Linked DNA regions of Homo sapiens: region 1 is linked to region 2. Evidence: promoter capture Hi-C in human tissues and cell types (Jung and others, 2019). All regions are on one chromosome and are shown on one strand. The core of a region is centred on a gene start or on the middle of the fragment in contact, and the rest is flanking DNA. Distances in the headings are between cores, read along the strand shown.

Region 1 (2,700 bases), core at 107-2,606, 250 kb after region 2:
CCAAATATGATTATAAAATGTGATGACACTGCCTTTCAAAATCTTTGTTTTCTCCTCCCAAACCATCTGAAAATAGTATTAGACATGAGCAAAACACACATTGGAACAGTGAATGGGAACACTGAAAGTCTCCGTGAAAACTAAACTAATTTGGAACCTATCATAACTTGTTTTCAGCTTTAGAACCACTAAATCATTATGAAAACACCTAAGTTACTCTTTTTGAAATCGTATAATGGTAACATGGACTTTCTGTTGTGTTTGTTTCTAATCTAGATCCTATCCCCTTGGGGGCCCTTTATATATGAAGTTGAATTGCTTGTGGTTTAATTTAGAATCTATGACATTCATTGTTTTCATTCACTGTGGAAATAAAGATGACCATAAGGAAAAATATCATTCTTCTGTAATCTTAGCACTCAGAGATATCCCCAGCTAATATTTTGATGTATAGAATTTTATTCTTTGTTCCCTGTTTGTGTGTGTCTAGCATATGTGTAACAAAATGATAAATACACAATGTATCTACCTTTAACAAGATAGCAGAAACATCCTTTCTTGTCATAATGTTCAACTCTCTCTTTTGAATGGTTATATATTTCAATAATTTTCATAGGATCCAAAACTGAGATAGGTCCAGAGCAGCCATATTTATGATATTGATGGACATCTAGCAGAGAAGAGGATACTACAATGGCTTCAGAGATTAGTTCAGTTTGTGCTTGCATTTTGATTGAGAATGTATCTTGACTCTTCAGCATTCTTTGAATGACACCTACACCATCTTAAACTTCATGTTCATTCACTGTGATTACAAGCCGCTGGGCACTAGAAATTAGTAAGACTGGTGTTTCTGGGAAAATGGTTCCTTCCACTCTGAGGATGCTTTTGCTATATCCTCTGATGAGGGTATTTCTGTATTCTTTGCCACTTTGCTGCTGACACAAGTTAGACACGACCTTCATTATGACTCAAAGCATCCACACGATCCCAGGCATCCATTCCATTGTGACATGACAGGAGCCTAGTTATTGAAATGAACATCTTCATGCTTCTTAGTGGCAAAGATCTGGAAAGAGGCAGTAATAAAGCCGCTGACAGTACATGCAAAACATATTGAACAGTCAACACCTTCTATTCACATGCAGAATCATTCCTGGGCGGACTTACTAGGGAAGAGACAAGAGGGAGTGCATGCAAGTTTAAATCTGCAACAAAAGATATGATGCAGAAGGAGATGAGCAAGATGGGATGGGAATAATTATTCAATCAGAGCGATGAAAAAATAACACAAAAGCCACAGGAATCTGTTGAGGTTGAAGGGGAAAAATGTGAAAGAACCAAATGAATTGCTTTACAAGAAAGGGCCACAATTCAGAGATTACAGGTGCTTTGGTGGTAACTGGGGATCCCCAATAAAGCAAATCCACTTAATCTTTGATTAGCACCTCTAACCACAATGAAGCCGTGGTGGATTTGATTTTAGGTTGGATATTCAACTTCAGGACAAGTTTTAGTTTTAAATTTTTACCCAATAAATATTTTTAATAATCATTTTTTAAAAACAGTATTAACCCTGCCCAAACCCATTCTCCACTGATGCTGGCACACAGGGCACCGAATGTAGTAGACATTTACTCATACTTTTTAGAAATGAAAAATAAACATGAGGCTAATCATAGCCACATATGTGTCCAATTTTCCAAGAAAAAAAAATTTCTACTGGTTTATAAATTGGGAGACAACCATTGTGATGACATTTCCCACGCATCAAACCCAGAGTAGCTGTGAACTAATTTATTGTCCATTGATGTTGCAATTTTCAGTATACAGAATCCAGTGGAAATCTGGAACTGATTCCCAGTTATACCCACCTTATGACTCCATGTGAAACTCTAAAACAAGCCCCACACTGAGGACTAGAAAGTCTTTCTTTGCCTCAGAATGAGATTATTTACTTACACTGAGGTTTCAATCTGTTTCCAGCAGAAAATAGCAGCCAATAGCACTTTTACAGGCATTTCTGAGAGACTGCATCCATAACTGAATGGAAAACTTGGGACCCTATTTTACCCCACAGTGAATGCCTGGTAGCAACTCTGGTTCCGTGGTCCCACCAGACTCAGCAACAAGGTCTCCCAACAGAAATGTACTCTGGTCTCATGCATAGTTTCAGGGGCTGCATCTTCCCCATGAATAAACCTACAGGGGGCTCTGTCTTTGGAACATCCAGCCGATTGGACTTTTTATTTGATTTCGGTTGAAATGGAATTTCACTATTTTCAGTTCTGCAAGGACAGGTGCCATAGTATAGGTTTTCCAGCCACAATGGTTGATGTGGGCTGACTTACAATGTACTCATTGTGGTTACACAAGATTTACGTGCCATGCCTTCCTTTTAACATCCCTTTCTCAGCCCATCCTGGGAAAAGAAATGCTTGCTAGATTCTAGATAAGTCACTCTTTACTGTTTCTGTCAGATGTCATTCACTGGGGGACAGTAATGTGCCTTATGGAGATAAGGTGAATTGCCTGTTTCATGGCACGAATCTGAAAGCATCCTTGAATTCAATTCAACAGTCTGACCGCCAGACAGCTCTTGAAATCATGTAAGAGGAAAAGAAAGAATGGGATTCTTATCTGGGAAGTGCCATACTGTAAAACTATAAGCATGATGTGCTGACGGACCGATGGGATGGT
Region 2 (2,700 bases), core at 105-2,604:
TGGACCCCGTAAAGGAAGATGTAGGAAGGCCCCAAATCAGGATCTAGTCCGCGGAGTTGCCTATTTGAGGGGAGTAACAATGGGGATTGGGAGAGACTTTTATGCTGAATTTCTAAACTCCCAGCTGAATCACGACTAGAACAAGGATAGCACCTCCTGAAGAGCAAAGTTTAGATCTCGTGTATCAACTGAATGATTCTTGAATCCTTTCTTCCCTTGCATACGAGCTAAGTAGGATGTCTTTGCAGCAGGAAATAAAGGGGAGAGGGTACAGAAACCCGGGTCTGGGAAATGGAGAGACTGGGCCACATTCATGGAGCCAGGAGGGGGAAATCAATGAGCATCATCTGACTTTGCAAAGGCTTTGATCCTTGTCTCCTTCCCCACTTCCGAGACTTTCCCATTCTTTCCTGGAGGTATGGCAGGTTATACATGGATCCATTCACCTTTGCGGGAGTCTTTGGCCACTGAACATAGTTAAAGAGCCTTTATTCCAATGTCTTGAAAATAGATGAAAATATTAAACAGAAGTGGAGCTGTTTGGCTCTTTTTGCAAGCCAGCAACGAGGATTTGGGCTTCCTTAAGTTATATGTGTTTAAGACAGTAATTTTTAAAAGTCATTATAAGGACTTTGGGCTGCAGGAACTCTCCCTGCCATTCACCGGCTTAATGGACATTGTGCCTTCTTGGGCATTCCTGTCCAGCCCGCGTCCGGGAGATACTCATCTCCTGCAAAGGAAGTTGCCTCTTTCCCCAAAGAGCAAATTTTCAAAACATGTAAGTTACAACTTGCTTCCCAACACTCCACTAAAAAAAAAAAAAATGCTGTTTCCCTTCCTTCTTGCCTCCATCCTACATCCCCCCGCTCCCCACTCCCTGCACCTTGACTCCCTATTTCAGTATCAGTGTTTAATTCTACACTCGCCTTTGGTGCAGCCCACGGGGGCGGGGTAGTGGGAAGCAAGGAAAGATGGTCGCCCACCTCATTCCCAAAACATGTGCACTTTTGAGGCTTCTGATTGGAACACATTGTCCCCAGACATCACAGAGCCTTGTGCTGTGGCTTCTGCGATGTCTTTGGAATTTACTAAAAACAGATAGACTAAGACCCCTCCCCACTCCACAACAAGCAAAAACACACACAAGCGCGCGGGCGCGCACACACACAAACACACACACCCCCTCAGTACCCCCCACCCCCTTTTTAAGCAATGCTTTGTTGTGCTAAAACTAGTTGGACGAGTTAGGGTGTTACTGTTGCTCCCGAGGCCCTGGCCAATAGAACCAGATCCACCCCGCTGTGCGTAAGCGCGCAATTAAGGATTTAACCAAGGCTGTGCTGCGCCTCAGCCAGCAGTCAGCCGGCCGGAGACAGAGACTTCACGACTCCCAGTCTCCTCCTCGCCGCGGCCGCCGCCTCCTCCTTCTCTCCTCCTCCTCTTCCTCCTCCTCCCTCGCTCCCACAGCCATGTCTGCTTAGACCAGAGCAGCCCCACAGCCAACTAGGGCAGCTGCCGCCGCCACAACAGCAAGGACAGCCGCTGCCGCCGCCCGTGAGCGATGACAGGAGTGTTTGACAGAAGGGTCCCCAGCATCCGATCCGGCGACTTCCAAGCTCCGTTCCAGACGTCCGCAGCTATGCACCATCCGTCTCAGGAATCGCCAACTTTGCCCGAGTCTTCAGCTACCGATTCTGACTACTACAGCCCTACGGGGGGAGCCCCGCACGGCTACTGCTCTCCTACCTCGGCTTCCTATGGCAAAGCTCTCAACCCCTACCAGTATCAGTATCACGGCGTGAACGGCTCCGCCGGGAGCTACCCAGCCAAAGCTTATGCCGACTATAGCTACGCTAGCTCCTACCACCAGTACGGCGGCGCCTACAACCGCGTCCCAAGCGCCACCAACCAGCCAGGTACATGGACAGGGGGAAGGCTGGGCAGATACAGGGCGACTAGGACGCTGGGGGCGCGAGATGGGGTGGTAGATTGGGGGTCACAGCGGTTCACGGCAGTGGGGGCGCACGCGGCAGAAGGGAGTAGGACTCAGACCCTCCAACAAAGAGAGTTTCTCGGGCCAGCATTTTAGGGATTTTTAGTAGGAGAGCCCTGTGGAGGTTCGAACTAGCGTCTCTCCCCTCCGGCACCTTCCAAGGCCCTTCAGTCGCTGAATTCCCAGCTTGCCCGGCCAGGAAGCCGGCTAGGCTGGAAAGGGGATAGGGGTGGAGAGAAGAAAGAATCAAGCAGCTCCTGGCGTTTGCGTAACAAAGAGAAGGTTACTTGGGAATTTTGGTAAGCGTGCTGGGTTGGTGCGAGTGGGAATAGAAGGCTGCCTCAAAAACTCAGTCAGGATTAGTTTGAGAGCCGCCACAAGCTAGCACGGTGCGGGTGCCCTGAGCACGCTGGGTGGGGGTGGGGGGGTTAAGGAGTTGTAGCCAGCCAGAGAAGAGCGCGCCGAGAGTTTTGCGGTTTATCCAGGCATTTCCAAAAACAAAAAGCCATTTAAAGGTGGAGGAGGGTTGCTGAGGGGTCACGTTGTAGGATAGATTTTTTTTTCTGTCTCCATAGGCGCCCACAATTTGTCTTTCCGTCCTCCTTTTTCGTCCGCTTTGAAACTTACTTAGAGAGTTTAAGAGGGTTAGTGAGCTTGGGCGGTAAGAGAAAGGCATGAGGCTCGGCGGAGAGGTTTTATTGGTAAGG

What was found. The method cuts DNA at HindIII sites, captures the fragments that hold promoters and counts their contacts. A contact is called where the count stands out against the background at its distance.
Region 1: a contact is called between a fragment that was not itself captured here and the fragment with the promoter of DLX5 in region 2, in 1 of the 25 tissues and cell types used here (H1 embryonic stem cells).

The regions. Positions count from the first base shown.
Region 1 is chr7:96,770,770-96,773,469 of GRCh38, reverse strand. No RefSeq gene overlaps it. Among named protein-coding and RNA genes, the nearest start is that of SEM1, 62 kb to the right of the region's middle. The HindIII fragment of the contact is 5,784 bases long and covers 1-2,700 here.
Region 2 is chr7:97,023,485-97,026,184 of GRCh38, reverse strand. DLX5 (distal-less homeobox 5) reads left to right here and starts at 1,354. Exons shown (of 3, transcript NM_005221.6): 1 at 1,354-1,916. The coding sequence starts at 1,562. RefSeq lists enhancers at 1-205, 1,132-1,848. The HindIII fragment of the contact is 6,057 bases long and covers 1-2,700 here.